Regions from separate parts of the Homo sapiens genome. Here region 1 is linked to region 2. Evidence: promoter capture Hi-C in 16 types of primary human blood cells and fetal thymus (Javierre and others, 2016). All regions are on one chromosome and are shown on one strand. Each heading gives the region's core, a stretch centred on a gene start or on the middle of the fragment in contact. The rest is flanking DNA. Distances are from core to core; before and after follow the strand shown.

Region 1 (5,544 bases), core at 2,027-4,526, 79 kb after region 2:
CTTGCTGTGATAGGCAAAAGCTTTGCTGTCCTCAAGGAGTGAATTTCTTAGCAGTCCTTTATTATGCTAACAAAAGGCATGGATCGCCAGGGACATCTGACCTTCTTACATATTCAAGAAATGTATCCTTAAAATCCATCAATAAGCTGGAAGAAGGTGATAATTGAAAAAGTTTTTAACATCAATAACAAGGCTCCAGTTGTTTATTCAATGATCAATGGTGAAATATGACAAAACAGTTCCCAATCAAGATGATGATAATAGTGATGATGAAGATGATGTCAACACTACAGGAAAAGTATCTATTGACAACATGGTGAAAATGTGTGGTGGGCTTTTTGAAGGACTACAGCAGTGTATATTTATAACAAGACAAGAAACCTTCTCAGTTTATAAAATCAAGAAAAGACATCTAAGCAAAAACTCATTGTTAATGAGGCAGATTATTCTGGAGAAAACATTTTTAAAAGCCATCCTGCAGAATGCCTCTTCATTCCTAGAGGACCTATTTCCTGGTCCCTCAATTACTTTTGATGTTTCTTCTTACCAAACAAAAAAAAAGAAAAAGAAACACACTGTCTAGTAACCTTTTAGTCAAAGAAAAGCATCAGGTGGAGGTTGCAACCTATCACTGTTTGTTGTTGCCGTTGTCTAACAGCTGAGACAGGTATTCTGGTGATGCTACTGTGCTACTTAGTTATTCTGCACACAATATTTCTTCATTGTATTAATGGCATATCATATGTTTTAATGTTAAGTATTTATGTGTGAATAAGCTTAAGAAAATTATTGCTTATGAGTAGCATATCAGTTTAGAGCCAGGGATGATCGTGATGCCAAACAATCAGATTGTTCACATGGGTGGCTAAGATTGTGACAGCTTTGCTTCCTGGTGGCTCAATGCACAAAAACTTTGTTTCATGCACAAAATTGTTTAAAATATTGTGAAACTGCCTTCAGTCTACGTATATAAGGTGTATAGGAAATATAAATAAATTTTGTGTTTAGACTTGGGTCCCATCCCCAAGATATCTGATTATATATATGCAAATATTCCAAAATCTGTAAAAAAAAAAAAATTCCAAATCCAAAATACTTCTGGTCCTAAGCATTTTGGATAAGGGATATTCAACGTGTATTAACAATGACCAGCATACAAGCTAGGCATGGTGGCTCACACTGTAGTCCCAGCTACTCAGGAGGCTGAGGCGGGAGGATCACTTGAACCTGAAAGTTCAAGGCTGCAGTGAGCTATGATTGTGCCACTGCACTCCAGCCTGGGAGTGAGACTTCATCTCTAAAGAAAAAAATGGCAGAATACAATGAAAAAAATACTTGATATGCAAAGAAGCAGGAAAATGTGCCATAACCAGGAAAGAAAAATTTAGCAAAGTTCTCCCATCTTTGCATCCTCAATGGCAATGACCAGATGTTGAATTTAACAGACAAGCACTTAAAAATAGCTATTATAAATATATCCATGGATGTAAAAGAAAATATGCATATAATGAGACATAAAAATGGGGAATATTAATGTAGTAATGGGAATTCTAAAAATTAGTAATACCACATTTGAAACAAAAAAGTTATATTTTCAGGAAATAATAGATGGAATTAATAGCAGATTGAAAATTGCAGAGAAAAAGATCCATGCACTTGAATAAGAAACAATAGAACCTATCTGGATTAGTCTGCTAGTAATACATAGCAAAATACCACAGACTGGGTGGTTTAAACGAGACAAATTTATTTTGACAGTTCTGAAGCTGGAAGTCCAAGATCAAGGTGTCAGCAGGGTTAGTTTTCTCTAAGGCCTCTAACTTTAGATGACCACCCTCTTGCTACCTCTTCATATGGGTGTCTGCTGTGCACATATACCCTTGGTGTCCTTTCTCTTCTTATAGGACATCAGGCAGATTGGATAACTCTGATATTCTCATTTTATTTTATTATTTTATTTATTTTATTTTATTTTAATTATAGGCTTCTCAGCTGTCATATTTTCATTTTAACTCAGTCCCCTCTTTAAGACCTTATCTCAAAACTTGATTACACACTGAGGTACTAAGGGTTGGGAATTCAAAATATGAATTTGAGGTAGGGGCACAATTTAGCCCATAATACTATCTAAGAAGCTGAAGAAAAAAGATAGGGGGAAAAGCTGGAAAAAAAGAAAAAGAAAAGCATCTTAGTAACTTATGGCAAATATTAAGCATTCCAAAACATGTGGAAGTATAGTCCCAGAATGAGAGGATTCAAATATTAGAACAGAAAATATTTGGAGAAGTAATGACCAGAACTTTTCCCAATTTGATGAAAGATATCTGAAAGCTCAGCAAAACCCAAGCAGGCAAGTTCCAAAGAAAACCACACCTAGATATATATTAGTCCAATTCCTGAGTCTTAGAAGTAGCCAAAGCAAAAAGGTTTTACAATCAGGGAAGTAAACATAAGAATGACCACAGTCTTCTCATCAGAAAAAATGGAGACCTAAGCATAAGAAGATGACATCTGAAAAGTATTAAAAGGAAAAATCCCTGTCAACTCAGAATTTTTTTTTTGACAGAGTCTAGTTCTGTCACCCAGGCTGGAGTGAAGTGGCATGATCTCGGCTCACTGCAACTCTGCTTCCTGGGTTCAAGTGATTCTCCTACCTCAGCCTCCTGAGTAGCTAGGACCATAGGCACACGCCACAACGCCCAGCTAATTTTCGTATTTTTAGCAGAGATGGGGTTTCACCACATTGGCCAGAATGGTCTTGATCTCCTGACCTTGTGATCCTTCCGCCTTGGCCTCCCAAAGTGCTGGGATTACAGGTGTGAGCCACCGCGCCTGGCATCAACTCACTCAGAATTCTATATCCAGCTAAAATACATTGCAATACAAAAGCAAAATAAAGACCTTTTCATGTAAATGAAAGCTGAGAAAATTTATCTCAAAAGGCCCACATTGTAAGTTTTTCAGGCTTAAAGGAAATCCTACCAGCAGGAAAGTTGAATCTTCACAAAGGAATGAAAAACACAGAAAATGATAAATATATAGGTAAATAAAAATAAGTTTTGTTTCTGGTAGGACAAATCCCTTTATTCCTTCCCCTCCTCATCATTCTTCCTCTCTCACCTCTTCCTCCTTTGTCTTCAGGAGTAATATCTTAGCTATTCTTGGCTTTTTTTTTCTATCAGTTTTAGAATCAGCTTGTGTGATAGACATAGATTTGCTTTCATAGGCCTCCTTCAAGGAAGAATTTGCTGGCAGGCTGAAAGGAGTACAGTCAGCAGACAGCCCCCAAATATCACTTTCTTTAAGATTAGCCTCAGCTTCAGAGAACCACCTACACAGAGACTTGGCCTTTCCAGGGCAGCCTTTATCTGGTGATTAAGTGGGATGAGGAATATTTTGGCCTGAAGTAGGATGCTCTGAAGGGCAGTACTTTTCTCAGAGCTCACCACAGGGTTGGTTGAGACTTGTCAAGGCTGCATCAGAGTTTAACATCTTCCTCTGTCCAATCCTGCTTCCTCCCTGTTCCTTTCACACCTTCCTAGTTGATATGGTTTTGATCTGTGTCCCCGCTCAAATCTCATGTCAAATTGTAATCCCCAATGTTGTAGGTGGGGCCTAGTGGGAGGAGATTGGATCATAGGGGTGGATTTTCCCCTTGGTACTGTGTCATGATAGTGAGTGAGTTCTCTTGAGAGCTGGTTAAAAGTGTGTGGCACCTCCTCCCTCACTCTCTCTTTCTCCTACTCCTGCCATGTAAGACGTGCCTGCCCCCATTTCTGCTATGATTGTGGTAAGTTTCCTGACACCTCCTCAGAAGCCAAGAAGATGCCAGCATCAGGCTTCCTGTACAGCCTGTGGAAACATCAGCCAACTAAATCTCTTTTCTTTATAAATTACCCAGTCTCAGGTATTTCTTTATAGCAATGTGAGAACTGACTAATATACTTGTAAACATCTAGCACCCCAAACTCCATCTCAACATCTGCTTTTGGAGTACACAAACTATCAAGTCCCTTGAAAAAACTTATTAGAATTTTCATAGCAAATGAATTGATAGTATAGAACAAGTTAGAAGTGACATTTTTTAACACTGAGTTTTCATATTTATCCATATGACATATTTCTTCACTTATGTCTTCTTTAGTATCTTTCAATTAAGTTTTCACATTTCTTATTAAAGGTCTTGCCCATATTTTGTTAGATTATTTTCTCCTATGTAGCTAGGAGAAAATATTTTTGACTGCATTTATATATGCACACACATATATATGTTTAAAGTAAGTTTTCTGAAGGTTGCAAGTTTGTGAAACTGTAACTGGCTTTTGTGTATTGATGATATGTACTTTCTTATTCATACACAGGGCAGAAAGCTATTTTGATACCCTGACCACCAAACAAAAGGATTGAGCTTTGCTCTGATTGAATCACTGGGATCACATGCCCATTCCAAAATGAATGACTGAAGCTGGGAAAATGCTGCATGTTGATTGGTTGGACCTGGGTTACATAGTGCACTGATCTCTGTGGCAACAGAGGTAGAATTATGCAACTATTGGAGGCCAATCAGGAGCCACAGCAGGATCGCATGGCTAGGAAACTGAGGGTCTGATTAGGAAAGATGAGTGGAGGATTTGTTGCTCAGGAAGGGGCCCATTATGTCCACTACTCTGGAAAACACTTCTGTTGCTGTAGGACCCTGGATGCCCCAGTTCCACCAAAACACTGGATTCATTAGAGCAGCAGCAGCAGCAATCTCAACAGCACTTTAGAATGTCACCAAGGTTACAAAGTCCAGGCATGTGATTGGTTATAAAAAGATTTTTCTTATCCCTGAATAATTAACCATTTCATTCCAGAATAAAGAAAATATAATGTTTCCACCACTCAGCAAATATTTGGATGAATTCTTATTTATGTTTAACTCGATCTACATTCAAGACAAAAAAGACAAGCGTTGTTTCTGCCAGACATTCTGTTTTGATATATTATTCTATTTCCACAGTATCCAATGGTTTTATTAATCCCATTTTATAGATGAGACAGCTAAGCCTCAGAATAATGATGTGGAGTCTTGCCCCAGGTGATACAGCTACTAAGATATTGTGACTCAGAATTGAGCATCTAGTGATCCTAAGTCACAGAGCACAGTCAGGTGAATTGGATCTTACTGTCTTAAAACAAATGGTCCCTGTTATCGTGAGCTATTCTGAGGATAGAAATTGTTGCTATGTATACAGTATCATTTGCATTATCTGATTATCAGATCTCACATTTCCATGAGCGTTTTCTTTCACTGCCACATTGACAATTTTGTGTTCTTTTTTCCAATGTTCCCAGTAAGTAGAAAAGCAGTACAAGATATTTTAGTTTTGTCAAATAGGAGCCTGACAGCCAGTATACAGTCGTTTATTATTACAACTGTGTCCCAGGGCACCTCATTGCAGCTATTTTGCAAGGTATTTTTAGCTTCATGCATATGGTCCTGTGTCAGCCCATTTGTTATCTGAAGAGCCAAACACTCGTGTATTTTTAGCAACATGATTA
Region 2 (5,415 bases), core at 1,238-3,737:
GACTCTACTGGTAGTAGAGGTGTCCAGGATTGAATCAAGCTTTTCCAAGATGAAGAGTTGCCATGGGAAGGGAAAAAAAAATACCACTTTCACCAGGAATCCTCCAGACAACTTACTTGCTATTTCAACAATTACTTCTTAAACTCCTGCTTTGTCTAAGGTGCTGGTGTATAGGTGTTTCCACGTAAATATAAATGATTAAACCCAATCTGCTGAATGGAGAGAGGGGAGAGAGACCTGAATGCCAGATAACCACTAGAAACCAGACAGATATTTTCCATGACCACATCCTGCCACTCAGTTCCTGATGGCAAAATCAGAAATTAGCAATAAAGCATGGTAAGCCACAGAAAATCTCTCTCCATGTTTAGATACTGATCTGCTAAGTGTGTCTCTTTGACTTCAAAGTATTCTAACTCAAATTTCAATTACATGAAATTTACACGTGCAATCTATAATAGAAGCAAAATGTGGCTTCTGTTGCCATCGAGGTGATTCAAGAATGTATTTCTCAGTTATGAGGAATCTTTTAGGTTACATTATTGGCATACTTCTCTGGAGCACAAATAAACTCTAAAAAGAAACCTGGTGCCCAAAGTAACCTTAGACAGACTTCTAGGTTGCCAGTTTAGCACACATAAAAAACTCATGTGTGTGTACACATGTACAATGGTTACAGCCACAAAGCCAAGTTGTTACCAGTATGCATATATTTTATACATAATATATCTTTAAACATAAACCTAATACATACATATATACATGTGTAGCTGCACTTGTGCAACTCAACAGTTTTTAGTGCAAACAGAATCTTAGTAATGGAGGTAAATAAAGAATGAATAAGAGGTAAAAATGGATATAGAAGTAAAACACAAGACATGGGGGTATAAATAAATTAAAACTAAGTTCTGAAAAGTGACTTTTAGTAATAGAAACCTAAAAACATTTCATAGAAGGCAAGAACAAAGTCTGACAACAGAGTTTAGTTTTAGTGGACATTGTGGTAGTAAATATGTAAGTTACTTCTCTCTTCAGAATACAACAGATCTCACTGGGCCTTCCAGGGTCATTATTCCTAGAAATAATCCCACTAAATGCCCATCTTAGCAACGCACATTTCCATGTGTGAGTTATTTCTCTCTCAGCCCCATTTAAAAATGTGAAATTTGGATTTAGAAGGGGACATGTATTTAAGGAAGAGAAGTGCCACACAAATAATGGAGCAATTTTACCATGAAATTAATGTCATGAAAATAGATATTTCTATAAATACCTCTTGTTTTTATTATTAAGACAATGCAGACATAAAACACTTCATACTGTAGTTTCTACATTGCAGCCAAACCACTTATCAATGGCCAATAAATTACTTCACTCCTATGATAGATACAAATGCTCGATTCAAGTTCAATTAATAGAATAGTGTCAGGATATCATGCAGACAGCTTGCATAAATACTCGAGGAATAATAGCATACCTTCAGTAGATTCTGTGATTTTTAAGCATGAAAACTTTGTCTTATTCCAAATTTCAAAAGATGGAATAAAGAATGTTTTCATATAAAATACATTTGGAACAGTTTTCCTTCTTAAAAAAAAAGGCATCTAACCCACTTGCAACATATACTGGCAATTCATCTTTGTAGTTACAAAATCAGATAGATATATATTCTTTTTCATCTCATGTGACTGTATGTGAACATTTCAGTAATTCCAACAATATCAAACAGCTAAATTCAAAATCATATAATACTTTCTAATAAGTGTATACGATATATATCTTTTGTAGCCAAAGGCAGAAAGACCTTCAGTTAGTTGATTTCATGTTTGGGCACTAGTTTATATTTTATCAGATAATTAAAAGTCATTAGTTATTTCACAGTATAAAATATTGAATCAATTACCAACAGGCTTTTATTTTCTGCTCCTAATTTCGAAATGTATTTGGACTCGAGGTATGGGAATAATGTCACTGCTTATCAAACAATTTTCTGGAAATCTTAATGCACAAAAATTTCCAGATTTATATATTCAAAAATAAATTATATGTTAAATGAAATTAAGAAAAAAAGGCGAGGGGAAGGAGAAAATCTAGTTTATATTCTGTGTGAATAGCTTTCAATATCTTCCAGGTGGGGGCAACCGTAAGCCACTTTTGAGAGAAGGGAGAACAGGCTCTTTAAGCTCCCTGAGTCTAGTTACAGAAGACTTCCTGGCAGTAACACCGTGAATAAAACAACCACAAGCTTCCAGGAGATGAGACTTCTAGGCTCTGCTCCAGACAACACCCGGCCATGGGCAACAGGGCCCACCGCCCTGGGCGCGCCGCAGCCTCGGCCACTCCGAGTCGGCTCCGATCGCGCACGCGCGCCGTGCACCTGCCCCATCGCGCCCAGCTGCTGCCTGAGCTCCGGGCACGCCCGCGCTGTGCCGGCGGGGAGTGTCCGTCACTCTCAGCGCTCAGGATCTCTCCCTTTCCAGGACCGCTAGGAAGCAGGAAATCCTTTTCCTCTCACGTTTACATCCCATTCATTCTTCCTCCGGGCAATTCAAGTCCATTCACAGCCGCCACAGATGCACGTGTGCACGCGCGCAGCTGCACCTTTAAAGAAACTCTCAAGTCCTGGCGGCCAGAAAACCAGCTTTCAGGCGGGGCGGTGGGGCTCCCCCTCCCCTTGCTTCGTCTCTGCAGATCTTTGTGCTCTAGGGAGGGATGGCCGCACATTCTGACGAGGACGAGGGTGGTGCATAACGCGGAGGTCAATTTTGCACAGTCCAGGCAAAAGAGACCCCCCCCCCCCACCAACATCCCTTCCTGTTCAGTTTCCCTCTCTGGCCCAGCGCGAAGGGCGAGGGGCGACAGAAGCCCGAGGGACAGAAAACCGAGGCTCCTCAGTGGCCGAGTTGGGAGAGAGTGTGAGTCCAGGAGAGCCCGGGGGCAGCAGGGAGAGGGTGCAGAAGCTCGAGCGCACCGAGCCAGAGGCCCCCTCTTCTCCCGCCACGCGGGGCTGGAGGTGCAGGCGCCGGTTCCGCGGCGTGGCCCGGCTATGTGTCGCTCCTCCGCGCGCCGCCCGCCGCAGCCCGTGCCCTCGGGCCGCCGCCGCCGCCGCTGCCCCCCGTCGAGCCCGCGGCCGCACCCTCGGGCCGATACTTGAGCCAGCAGATGACCCAGGTGACAACGACCGAGAAGAGTGCCAGGATGCTGGCCACCGACAGGCAGATGGGCCCCACGGGCGAGGGCGAGGGCGACCCGGTGGCCGGTGCCTCGCCAGGGGGCGCCCCGCCTCCGGGGGTTCCCCCGCCGCCGTAGTGGTTGACGAAGATGAGGCCGGTGAAGAGCAGCACCACCATGGAGAGGAAGGAGAAGACCACGCACACGCAGCCAGCGGTGAGCGCCGCGCGCTTGCAGTTCTGGCAGCTGTCGTAGGCGCCCGGGGCGCGCAGGCCGGGGCGGGCTCGAGGCCCGGGGGCCGCGTCCTCGGCAGGCGGCGGCGGCGGCGGCTGCGGTGGGGCGGGGGAGGGCGGCGGTGGCGGGGCCGGGGTGGGCGGCGGGGCAGCAGCGGGCGCGGGCAGGCGCGCGGGCAGCGGCGGGAGGCGGTCCTGGGGCAGCGGGTCGTGCGCTGCGCGCAAAGCCAGCGGGAAGGCCTCGGCTAGCTTGGTGTTGTTGGGCAGGCCGTGCACGCGGCTGTCGGGCAGCGGCGTGCGGTGGCGGCACACCGGGCACGCGATGGCGCCGGGCGGGCAGAGCCAGGGCGGCGGGCGCGGCGGGCGCTCAGGCGCGGCGGCAGCGGCGGCGGCGGCGGCGGCGCGGAGCTGCAGCTGGCTCAGGCACTCCTGGCAGAAGGTGTGCAAGCACGCCAGCAGCTTGGGCGCGCGCCGGTCCGCGTCGAAGTAGTTGTAGCAGATTTTGCACTCGTAGTCCTCAAGCGGAGGGAGGCCGGAGACCGTCTCCGCTGCGTCCCGGGCTCCTGCGTCTCCGCAGTCCGGGGCTCCCTTCGCGGCGACCCCAGCTCCCTCCCGGCTCCCGGGGCTGCTGCTTGGGCTCTGCTGGCTGCCGCCGCTGTCGCTCGCCGGCGCTGCCATGGCATGATCCGCCCCTCATCGGGGGCAAGGTGAGGTGCCTTCCTCCCCCTGCACCGCCGCCTGGGCTCCGGGCGGGGAGGAGGCGCTTCTGCCTCCCCCCTCTGACTGCTGTCGCCTGGCGGGGGAGGCACCGCTGGCTGGGCCAGGCGGGGGCGCAGCAGCGACCGCCTCCCCCTCCCGCCTCCCCGTCCCCCGCCCCCGGCGCGTGCACCACGGTCCCTCCCCGTCCCTGGGCTCCTCTGCAGTCCCCCTCGGCCTTCTCAACGCAGCTTTCCCAGCAGCTTAGGATATCGGTTTTTGTTGGACTTGAAATTGGGAGTTGAGGGCGGCCTGGAGGCGCTCGGGAAGGAGATTTGGGGTGCGGCTGCTTATAAAGATGTTGCCTTTTACCCCAGCAGTCCCCCGCCCCCTACGCGGGGTGGTGGCAGGAAACCGGTTCCTGAGTTTTCCTTCTTTCTCTTCCTCGACACGACCTCCCCACCAGTGTGTTTCTGTTTATCCTCCTCGCCCGGGGGCTGGGTCCCTGGCGAAGCCTCGTTTTCACCCACCCACCCCCAAGCCAGAGCTCACCAGTGATGTAATGCGGGACCCGCGCGGGGAGGGGAAACGGCAGCCTCAACCGCCTGGCAGCGGCGGTTTCTTCTCTTCGTGAAAATCGTGATCTCATCTCTCCGTCCATGGGCGAAAAAACAGCCATCACCAGGCCATTCACGCTTTGTGCTTTTGTTAGCAGAGCCCAGGCAGCCCTGCAGCCCACATCTAGGGTACAAACGGAACGGCGGCGTTTTCCTTGTATCATTTAGAGGAAATTTTTGAGCTGAACAGTATTTTTTTTCTCCCTCTCTCTCTCTCTGAAATATTGCTGAGATTTAAAGGAGGACGAAGACAACAGATTCATAGCTGGGTCTTGCTGTTTTCCTGACGCTGACCACAGCGGATCTAGGTGGCTATTTCGTTGGTGCACAGGCGTTCACAGAGGCAGAGAGGGGAGAAAGTTGTCAAACAGATTCACAGACTGTCAAAGTGCGGCTTAAACCGAGTTCCTGGGCTCCCTCACTGGCTTCGTCCACTTAAACTTTTAACGTACACATGTAGAGAGCTGAAACTCCAGGGGTAACATGGGACAGGTCCTCTTGATTTAATGAAAACAGAAGATCAACTGGACCGGGTAGCAAGAAATAAGGCTTAAGAAGCACTGGGTAGGTGACAGGAGTGGTGGGCTTGAGGACCAACTGAGGGGTGGTGTTCAGATACTCCTAACCAGAAAGTCTGTCCCCCGATTTCTCCAGGTTGGGCCTCACCCTATGAGCAGGGAACCCACCTTCCCCCTCAA

What was found. The method cuts DNA at HindIII sites, captures the fragments that hold promoters and counts their contacts. A CHiCAGO score of 5 or more calls a contact.
Region 1: a fragment that was not itself captured here is called in contact with the fragment with the promoter of CT75 in region 2 in 1 of 17 cell types (M1 macrophages); the score reaches 5.1 in M1 macrophages.

Annotation. Positions count from the first base shown.
Region 1 is chr2:222,394,070-222,399,613 of GRCh38, forward strand. No RefSeq gene overlaps it. Among named protein-coding and RNA genes, the nearest start is that of SGPP2, 28 kb to the right of the region's middle. RefSeq lists an enhancer at 1-280. The HindIII fragment of the contact is 5,004 bases long and covers 775-5,544 here.
Region 2 is chr2:222,315,984-222,321,398 of GRCh38, forward strand. It overlaps CT75 (cancer/testis associated transcript 75), which reads left to right and starts at 2,488. Exons shown (of 4, transcript NR_136642.1): 1 at 2,488-3,387. It overlaps RNF228 (ring finger protein 228), which reads right to left and starts at 4,172. Exons shown (of 1, transcript NM_001395871.1): 1 at 1-4,172. The coding sequence starts at 4,082. The coding sequence ends at 3,045. RefSeq lists enhancers at 2,181-2,776, 2,553-2,602 and silencers at 3,073-3,402, 4,043-4,352. The HindIII fragment of the contact is 3,961 bases long and covers 2,244-5,415 here.